2 separate regions of the Homo sapiens genome follow, and region 1 is linked to region 2. The links are contacts of gene promoters, found by promoter capture Hi-C in human tissues and cell types (Jung and others, 2019). All regions are on one chromosome and are shown on one strand. Each heading gives the region's core, a stretch centred on a gene start or on the middle of the fragment in contact. The rest is flanking DNA. Distances are from core to core; before and after follow the strand shown.

Region 1 (5,162 bases), core at 1,148-3,647, 340 kb after region 2:
AAAACAAATACATAATTGAGCTCCTTGTACTTTTATTTCTAACTTTTTTTTTTGAGATGGAGTCTCACGCTTGTCCCCCAGTCTGGAGTGCGATGGTGCAATCTCGGCTCACTGCAACCTCCGCTTCCCAGGTTCAAGCGATTCTCTTGCCTTGACGCCCCCCCAACCCCAACCCCAACCCCAACCCCAACCCCAACCCCCCGGCCAACTTCACCAGTAGCTGGGATTACAGGCACCTGCCACCACACCCGGCTAATTTCTGTATTTTTAGTAGAGGCAGGGTTTCACCATCTTGGCCAGGCTAGTCTAGAACTCCTGACCTCAGGTGATCCGCCTGCCTTGGCCTCCCAAAGTGCTGGGATTACAGGCATGAGCCACCACACCCAGCCTTATTTTTAATGCCCTAAAAAAACTAGATATACAGTGGGCGCGGTGGCTCATGCCTGTAATCCCAGCACTTTGGGAGGCCAAGGCGGGTGGATCACCTGAGGTCAAGAGTTTGAGACCAGCCTGACCAACATGGTCAAACCCCACCTCTACTAAAAATGCAGAAATTAGCCGGGCGTGGTGATGCACACCTGTAAACCATTACTCAGGAGGCTGAGCCAGGAGAATCATTTGAACCTGGGAAGTGGAGGTTGCAGTGAGCGGAGATCGTGCCACTGCACTCCAGCCTGGACGACACAGCAAGACTCCGTCTCAAAAATGAATGAATGAATGAATGAAAGAAATACCATTCATCCATAAAAAAGAATGAAATTCTGTCATTTTCGGAACATGGATGGAATTGGAGAATATTAAATAACATGAAATAAACCAGGCACAGAAAGAGAAGTATCACGTGTTCTCACTCAAATATTAAAGAACTAAAAAGCTGATCTCATAAACAGAGAACAGAATGATGGACACCAGAGGCTGGGAAGGGTGTGTATGAGGGGCAAAGGGGTGCATAAAGAGAGGATGGTTAATGGGCATGAACATACAGTTAGAAGGAATAAGTTCTGAAGCTCAATCGTAAGTAGGGTGACTATAATTAGTAACAATGAATTTTATATATATATATATATATATATATTTTTTTTTTTTTTTTTTGGAACGAGTCTCATTCTGTCGCCCAGGCTGGAATACAGTGGCACGATCTCAGCTCACTGCAAGCTCTGCCTCCCGGGTTCACGCCATTCTCCTGCCTTAGCCTCCCGAGCAGCTGGGACTACAGGTACCTGCCACCACACCTGGCTTATTTTTTGTATTTTTTAGTAGAGACGGGGTTTCACCATGTTAGCCAGGATGGTCTCGATCTTCTGACCTCATGATCCGCCCGCCTTGGCCTCCCAAAGTGCTGGGATTACAGGCGTGAGCCACCGCGCCCGGCCAATAACAATGAATTGTATATTTCAAAATAGCTTGAGAGGAGGACCTGAAATGTTCCTATTAAATATTCAAGGTGATAAGATGCCCCAAATACTCTGACTTGGTCATTACAATCTATGCATCTAATAAAGTATCACATGTACCCCCAAAACAATATGGAAAAATTGTTTCGCATATGAAGAAATGGTTAAATAATAAGGGACAGAAGTAAATGGATGGGTATCTTCAGATGCTTGTGTTCCCCAAAATACAATGTTTAGGAGAGTTCCTAATATTTTCATCGATGAGACAACGTGGAGTGACACTCCAAAGAGAGGGGGATAAACTGAGAAAGTGCCCACAAAGCTAAATGAGTAGTATTTATCAACCTTTGACTTGAGCAAGCATGAGGTAAGAGGTCTGGAGAAAAATTAAGTAATCCATGCAGTAATTAAAATATAGCGTTTTTTAAACTAGTTCTACCTAATAAAAAGTGATCCAAATCTATGGTGATACCTCATGACGTTAACCCAGAATCTCTGGTAAGGTTCTTCATAAAGTAGACCCAATAAATAACTGGTGAATTAAATATGCTACTAGAGACAGAAAGGTTAATATAAATAAATCAAAAGTATACTTGTAACTTTTTTTTTTTGAGACAAAGTTTCACTCTTTTTGCCAGGCTGGAGTGCAATGGCACAATCTTGGCTCACTGCAACCTCCGCCTCACGGGTTCAAGCAACTCTCCTGCTCCAGCCTCCCAAGTAGCTGGGATTACAGGCGCCTGCCACAACGCCTGGCTAATTTTTTGTATTTTTAGTAGAGGCAGGGTTTCACCATGTTGGCCAGGCTGGTCTCAAACTCCTGACCTCAGGTGATCCACCCGCTTCCACCTCCCAAAGTGCTGGGATTACAGGAGTGAACCATCGCACCAGGCCTACTTGTAACTTCTTTTAAGGTTTTCTTGAGACAGTCTTGCTATGTTGCTCAGGGTGGTCTTCCGACCTATATTCTTTGTATAAAACCATGATATTTTTTTTTTGAGACAAGATCTCACTCTGTCACCCAGGATGGAGTGCAGTGGCGTAATCAAAGCTCACTGCAGCCTTGACCTTCCAGGCTCAAGTGATCCTTCCACCTCAGCCTCCCAATTACCTGGGACTAGAGGTACACGCCATGACAGCCAGCTAATTTTTGTATTTTTTGGAGAGACGGGATTTCGCCATGTTGCCCAGGTTAGTCTCCAACTCCTGAGCTCAAGCCTTGAACTCCTCCTGCCTTAGCCTCCCAAAGTGTTGGGATTATAGGTGTAAGCCACCGTACCCAATCCACAAACCATGGTATTCTCTCTCAATTGGTGGCACCACCCATCAACCAGGAACTCAAGCTAAGAACACAGGAGTAGGCCAGGTGCGGTGGCTCACGCCTATAGTTCCAACACTGTGGAAGGCCAAGATGCACACATCAGTTGAGGTCAGGAGACCAGCCAGTGCAACACAGTGAAACCCGGACTCTACTAAAAAAATACAAAAATAGCCAGGCATGGTAGCACATGCCTCTAATCCCAGCTACTCAGGACCTGAGGCAGAAGAATCACTTGAACCCGGGAGGCAAAGGTTGCAGTGAGCCAAGATCGTGCCAGCGCACTCCAGACTGAGTGACAGAGCGAGACTCTGTCTCAAAAAATAAATTAAAAAAAAAAATAGCAGCAGCAACCTTGCAACCTTTGGGCCAGTCGTGGTGGCTCATGCCTGTAATACTAGTACTTTGAGAGGCTGAGGCAGAAGGATCACTTGAGCCTAGGAGTTCAAGACCAGCCTGGGCAACCAACGTAGACAGATCCATCTCTAAAAAACAAAAAGAGGCTGGGTGCAGTGGCTCACGCCTGTAATCCTAGCACTTTGGGGGGCCGAGGTGGGCGAATCACCAGAGGTCAGGAGTTCAAGACCAGCCTGGCCAACACGGAGAAAACCCATCTCTACCAAAAATACAAAAATGTGCTGGGCGTGGTGGTGGGTGCCTGTAATCCCAGCTACTTGGGAGGCTCAGGCAGGAGAATCATTTGAACCTGGGAGGCGGAGGTTGCAATGAGCTGAGATCATGCCACTGCACTCCAGCCTGGGGGACAAAGCGAGACTCCGTCTCAAAAGAAAAAAGAAAAAAGGAAAAAAAAAAAAAGTAGCAATCTTTGGCTGGCAGGGCTGCAGGGTACACTTACTTGCCCTGGCTTGGTTAACTGGTGTCACCAGGAAGGGCGTAGTAATGGGCCCCTTCTGTACTCACTGAAGGTTATTTAAATAAGACTTAAGGAGCATGGTGGGGGGAGAAGCAGTCTTCAGAAACTTAATACTACTGCCTGTGATTCAAGGATACTGTGCCTAAGATACCATTAGTGGTTTAGAAAAATGTCAGCAAATTCAACTGGCAGGAAATATGAAGAAACGATTTTAAAATAACTTTAAGCTGTGAAGTGTGAAATTAAGGTAACTACCTCTAGTTAATTTTTTGTTTCCAACAAACAGAAAAACTGCTACAACAATTCCAATGGTTCTCAAACTTTACCATCTATCAGAATCACCTGGAGAACTAGTTGAAACACAGGCTGTTGAGTCCCCACTGCCAGACTTTCTGATTCAGTACGTTTGGGGTAGGATCCAAGAATGTAGTGGCACAATCTTGGCTCGCTGTAACCTCCACCTCCCAGGTTCAAGCAATTCTTCTGCCTCAGCTTCCCTAGTAGGTTGGATTACAGGTGCACACCACCACACCTGGTTAATTTTTGTGTTTTTGGTAGACATGGGATTTTGCCATGTTGGTCAGGCTGGTCTCGAACTCCTGACCTCTGCTGATCTGCCCACCTCAGCCTCCCAAAGTGCTGGGATTACAGGTGTGAGCCACCGTGCCCAGCCCAAGAATTCCCTTTCTAACTAGTTCCCAGGTAATGTGGTCTGGGGAGCACACTTTGAAAACAACTGGTTTAAATTATTAGAACTAAGAACCTTGTAGGTGAATAAAATAAAGCTAGATAACTAACCTATGCAACCTGATTAGCAATCTAAGGTTCTTTTCATTGTTGAAATTCACTTACTGTGTTCTCTACATTTTATGTATTTTTAGGACTACATAACACATTTTTGTTCAATTCAATAGACAAGTTTTGAGCACCTGAATAAAGCATATTCCTTGACTTACAGAAGTCTACTCTTACTAGGTAAAAAGAGACTCACGGTCAAATACAGACTTGTGCCACTTAACGGCATTTCACTCAACAACTGTATATGTGACGGTGGTCCTATAATAATACTATAGTTTGGCCAGGCGCGGTGGTTCACGCCTGTAATCCCAGCACTTTGGGAGGCTGAGGCAGGCGAATCACAAGGTCAGGAGATAGAGATTATCCTGGCCAACATGGTGAAACCCCGTCTCTACTAAAATACAAAAAATTAGCCGGGCATGGTGGTACATGCCTGCAGTCCCAGCTACTCAGGAGGCTGAGGCAGAAGAATCACTTGAACCTGGGAGGCAGAGGTTGCAGTGAGCCGAGATCGCACCACTGCACTCCAGCCTGGGCGACAGAGCTGAGACCCCTTCTCAAAAAAAGACCCAATCATATGCCAGTAAGTCCTTCCTTAGACCCAGAATCATACCCAATTACCTACTCAACAGTTCTACTGTGATATTTCACAAGCACTTCTCATTTAACCTTTTCAAGTTTTCTCAAAACTGAACTTATGCTCCTTTGCTCAGTCCCCAAACCTGCTCTTCCTTCAGTGTACCCTATTTCAATAAAAGAACTGTATTATAAGCCATGC
Region 2 (5,657 bases), core at 1,072-3,571:
TAGACAAACTAAAAGAGCACCCTAGAACACACGGAGCTGTAAATATTCACCCCTAGACACTGCCATGAGGTCGGAGCCCACAGCCTGCCCATCTGTATGCTCCCCCAGAGGTCTGAGCAGCGGGGCACTGAAGAAGCGAGCCACTCCCCCATCGCACGCCCTGCGAGGGAGACAAGGGAACTTCCCGTTTCAAATGCATGATGTGTTCAAGAGCAGCAATGCCAGTGTGGCAGAGCAGAGTGAAGGAGGGGGTGGGGTACACCACAGGGTCAGCAGGGGAGCTCACCCAGGTCAGTAGGGGTGGACCTCACAGGGCCTGTAGGCTATGGTGAGGCCTCTGTTTTTCACTCTGTGATGGAAGCCACTGAGTGGCTCCGAGCAAAAAAGGAATTGAATCTGGCATGGGCTCGGCTGCTGGGACGAGAACAGACCACAGAGGGACAAAAGAGGCAGGAGAGTTAGAGGTCGCTGCAGTAACCCAGGCTGGAGATGAGGATGGCCTGGACCCAAGCAGTGATGGCAGAAGTGGTGAGAACTCAGATCCTGGCTGGATATTGAGGATGTGATGTTGGATGTGAGACTGGGAGGACCACAGAGATGCTAAGGTTTTTGCCCTGAACAACGGGAAGGTTGTTGGTTCCCCTGACACGGAGAAGCCTCAGGTGGAGCAGGTTAAGTGTGAGTTGCCAACCAGGCTTCCAGGTGGATATGGTGAGTAGGGAGCTATATATCAGGTTTAAGAGACAGTTAATGACTGGAGAGCTGCATCTGGGAGTAATCCGGGCAGGGAGAGTTTTTAGAGATAACACTGGGGGTGGGTGCAGAGAAAAGAGGTTTGGAGATTGAACTCTCGACAGGATATGGTTAGAGGAGCCCACGCTCTTAACTGCCGCACCATGCTGCATCTCTGAAGTCAGTTTCCACATCGGTAAAACGGAATCAACAACAGTACCTATCTCACATTGTAGGAAATAAACGTGTGAAGCATGTAGCACAATGTTCGAATAGTGAGCACTCAATCAGTGCTGGCGATTGGTTATTTAACACCACCTGTTTCTGATCTTGGGGTGCCATTGTTCACATCTCTCCTTCTGATGTCTGTTCCATCCAGGATCCCCCTTGCCAGCCCCTTCTTCCAACGCCACCAACCCCCCAGCACATGGGGGCATGAACCCACACCACACATCCTGTCTCTTCTTAGAGAAGATATCTTTTCATACAGCGGATCACTCCAGCCATGCAGCTCCCCTCTGCTCTCAGGGCACTTATACTGCACTGGGCTAGGATGCTTAGCTGCCCGATTCGGCACGGTGCTGGCCAGGGGGCATGTGCTCATTTGCTCAATGTGCATGTCCTGCCTGACTGCTCTGCTGGGCACAGGGGCTGCCCCTGGGAGGTTCCCTACTCTGCAAACAAGTGGCAGCTGGGAAAAGCACTCCGGGAGGAGGCAACTACAGGAGAAGCAGGGAAGCCTGGAGTTGTAGGTTGGGGGAGAAGCGGGCAGAGGGGCTGGATCTGGGGGCCTGGCAAAAAGGAGAAAAGTGGGAGGTTCTTTACTTCCCAACCCTCATCTGTCCCAACAAGCCCCTAGTGCAGCAGGAAGGCTGCTAAAGAGTCCCTGTCTGGGAGACCTGACCTCTGGGCCCGTTCTCCGGCTTTGCACGTCCCAGGGTCTTGGTTTTCCACTCTAAACAGCGGCAGTTGGTCTAAGTGTTTTCAGAAGGCCCTTCCATCTACAAAGGATCATGAGCCTTGAAACCCAGATACCCGAGGACCACTCCCGGCCCTGGGTTTCCTCCAGCGTGGGGTCTGCCCAAGCACTGAGATCAACCCCCAACCCCAACCCGCTTGTGATGACTGACGGCCTCCCCCACCAATGCTGCTACAAGGCCGAGCCAGGGGGCGGGGCAGACAGGCCCGAATTCACCCCCTACTTAAATTCAGCCCAATCAGCGTCGAGTTCTGCATGTGAGCGGTAGGGGCAGTGGACGCTGCCCTCTGGGCATGCGCAACCTCTCGCCTAAGGCCTCCTCCCGCCTCGCATGCGCACCACGCCGCAGAGGGGGAGAAGGGTAGGGTAGACACGAACCTTGGTCCCATCTTGAAAGTCCGGGAGCTCTCCTCGGCCTTCCTGTATCACACGTTTTTGGATCCCGTCCTCCCGGAGTCTTGCGATGATATCCGCCATCCTCCTTCCCCGCTGCTCCCTTTCGGCAACTTCCGGACTCGCTCGGTAGCTTCCGGACTTGCTTCGGCAACTCCTAGCACCTCGGCAGCTTCCGAGCTAGCGCCATTTTGGTTGAGGGCAGAAGCCAAAAGGGACTGAGCGTGGAAACGGATGGTGATTGGTTCTCTGCGCTGGGGCTGAGCGCGCGCGTCTGCTCGGGGGCGGAGCCTAGGAATGTCTCGGGGCTGGACCCCAGCCTGTCAAGGAGGAAGGGCCGGGGTCCGCGGGCCGGGCGGGACGAGGACGTCCCTAACAATTGTCATTGAATTGATTGGGACTGCGGCCGTGTGGCACTTTGTTTGAAGTTGTGGATGGAATATAACAGCACTGCAGAGTTAGGAAAATGAAAAAAAAAAAAAACACCCGTAAGCCACACCCTCAAAGTGTTATGATTTTTGTGTATTTTCTTCCGGCTTTTTCTCTTTCGCATATCTAGTATGATTGTCGGGACTCTTGCATCCTGGATCTTCCTCTTTCAAAAAATAAAAAGAGGAAGAGGGAAAGAAAGGTGGAGAAGGAGACCAAGAGAGCCCATTGCGGGGTCGGAAATGAGTCATAGTTGTGCCCAATTAATATTAGGGAATAATCGATGAATGATAGAAATGAGGTACTTTAGCGCCGGGCGCGGTGGCCCTGTAACCCCACCACTTTGGGAGGCCGAGGCGAGAGGATCGCTTGAGCCCAGGAGTTCGAGGCTGCAGTGGGCCGTGTTCGTGCCACTGCACTCCAGGCTAGCCGACAGAGCGAGATGCTGTCTCAAAACAAAACAAAAAAAAAAAATTAAATTAAAAGAAAAGAGAAATGAGGTACTTTGGGGCTAAAACAACTTTTGTTTTTCTTTTTTTGAGACGGAGTCTCGCTCTGTCACCCACGCTGGAGTGCAGTGGCACAATTTCAGCTCACTGCAAGCTCTGCCTCCCGGGTTCACGCCATTCTCCTGCCTCAGCCTCCCGAGCAGCTGGGACTACAGGCGCCCGCCACCATGCCCGGCTAATTTTTTGTATTTTTAGTAGAGACAGGGTTTCACCGTGTTAGCCAGGATGGTCTCAATCTCCGGACCTCGTGATCCGCCCACCTCGGCCTCCCAAAGTGCTGGGATTACAGGCGTGAGCCACAGCGCCCAGCTGATATGAAACATTCTAAATAAAATACTAGGCTAATTGAATTCACTAATGTCATGTAAAAATGCATCAGTATGGGGCAGGTGTGGTGGCTTATGCCTCTAATACCAGCACTTTGGGAGGCCAAGGCAAGTGGATCTCCTGGATCTCCTTGAGCTCACAAGTTCAAGACCAGCCTGGACAACATGGCAAAATACCATCTTCACCAAAAATACAAAAAATTAGGTGGTGTGGTGGTGCACGCCTGTGGTCCCAGCTACTCAGCAGGCTGAGGCTGGAGGATTGCTTGAGCCCAGGAGATGGAGGTTGTAGTGAGCCAAGATCGCACCACTGCACTCCAGCCTGGGTGATAGAGTGAGACCCCATCTCAAAAAAAAAAAAAAAGCATCAATATGCTAAGTGAAATAACAGTACCAGTCACATACAGGAAAATACTGTATTATTCTACTTATGTAAGGTACCTAGAGTAGTCAGATTCACAAAGACAGAAAGCAGGGCCGGGCGCGGTGGCTCACACCTGTAATCCCAGCACTTTTGGAGGCCAAGGCAGGCAGATCACCTGAGGTCAGGAGTTTGAGACCAGCCTGGCCAACATGGAGAAACCCCATCTCTACGAAAAATACAAAAATTAGCTGGGTATGGTGGCACGTGCCTGTAATCCCAGCTACTCGGGAGGCTAAGGCAGGAGAATCGCTTGAACCCAGGAGGCAGAAGTTGCATTGAACCAAGATCGCGCCACTGCACTCCAGCCTGGGCGACAGAGCAAGACTCCATCTCAAAAAAAAAAAAAAATGACAGCAGAATGGTGATTGCCAAGGGCTGGGGGCAGGGGGGTGGGAAATGGAGACTTGTTCTTTGATGAGTGTAGAATTTCTGTTTTGAAAGACGAAACTGTTCTGGAAATTGGTTGCATAACAGTGTGCATATACTTAACGCCACTGAGTATACACTTCAAAACGGTTGAGATGGTAAATTTTATGTTATGTTATGTGTATTTTACCACAATTAAGAATAATTTTTTTGCCGGGCGTGGTGGCTCACGCCTGTAATCCCGGCTCTTTGGGAGGCTGAGGCAGGTGGATCACCTCAGGTCAGAAGTTCAAGACCAGCCTGGTCAACATGGTGAAACCCCGTCTCTACTAAATATACAAAAATTGGCCAGGCGTGGTGGCGGGCACCTATAATCCCAGCTACTCAGGAGGCTGAGGCAGGAGAATCGCTTGAACCCGGGAGGCAGAGGTTGCAGTGAGCCGAGATTGCACCATTGCACTCCAGCCTGGGCAACAAGAGCGAAACTTCATTCCAAAAAAAAAAAAGAATAATTTTTTTTTCCGGGCTGGCACGGTGGCTCACGCCTGTAATCCCAGCACTTTGGGAGGCCGAGGCGGGCAGATCACGAGGTCAAGAGATCAAGACCAGCCTGACCAACATGGTGAAACCCCGTCTCTACTAAAAATATAAAAATTAGCCAGGCGTGGTGGCAGGCGCCTGTAATCCCAGCTACTCAGGGAGACTGAGGCAGGAGAATCGCTTGAACCCAGGAGGTGGAGGTTACAGTGAGCCGAGATCACACCACTGCACTCCAGCCTGATGACAGATCGAGACTGTCTCAAAAAAAAAAAAAAGAATTTTTTTTCCAAAGAAAATGCATGAAGATCAAGTAGAGTTTATTCCAAGAATGTAAGAATGGTTCAACATTATAAACATCTATTACTGTAATTCACCACGTCGGTTAACTAAAGGAGAAAATGCATATGGTTATCTCAAAATATGCAGAAAAAGCATTTTATGAACTTCTGTGACTATTTATGATAAAAACTCACAGTTAGGAACAAAGAGGAATTTTCTCAGGTTGATAAAAGCTGCATACAATTAAGTATGATGGAATAAGTATCCACAATTTCTTCAAGATCAGGAACAAGGCAATGATGCTCTCTAGGAATGATGCTGATCAGTAAGTGTTAGAAGTCCTGCCTAGAATCCCAGCACTTTGGGAGGCTGAGGCAGGAGGATAGCTTGAGCCCATGAGTAACAACTTGGGCAAGATAGCAAGACCCAGTCTTTACAAAAAGAAAAAAAGAAAGAAAATTAGCTGGGCATAGTGGCACATGCCTGTAGTCCCAGCTACTAAAGAGGCTGAGGCAGGATGATCCCTTGAGCCCAGGAGATCGAGGCTGCAGTGAGCTATGATCTCACCACTGCACTCCAGCCTGCACAACAGAGCAAGACCCTATATCCAAAAAAATAAAAGAAATTTAATTTTTTTTAAAAAAAGAAGTCCTGGCCAAAACAATAAGCCAAGAAAAAGA

The links. Contacts are between HindIII fragments. The study calls those that stand out against the background at their distance.
Region 1: a contact is called between a fragment that was not itself captured here and the fragment with the promoter of AIP in region 2, in 1 of the 25 tissues and cell types used here (liver).

The regions. Positions count from the first base shown.
Region 1 is chr11:67,137,596-67,142,757 of GRCh38, reverse strand. The region is part of intron 2 of KDM2A (lysine demethylase 2A); the gene reads right to left. All of the region lies in intron 1 of LOC124902695 (a long non-coding RNA gene), which reads right to left. Among named protein-coding and RNA genes, the nearest start is that of KDM2A, 21 kb to the right of the region's middle. The HindIII fragment of the contact is 5,702 bases long and covers 1-5,162 here.
Region 2 is chr11:67,479,690-67,485,346 of GRCh38, reverse strand. AIP (AHR interacting HSP90 co-chaperone) reads right to left here and starts at 2,321. Exons shown (of 6, transcript NM_003977.4): 1 at 2,090-2,321. The coding sequence starts at 2,188. RefSeq lists enhancers at 223-272, 2,420-2,479. The HindIII fragment of the contact is 17,225 bases long and covers 1-2,819 here.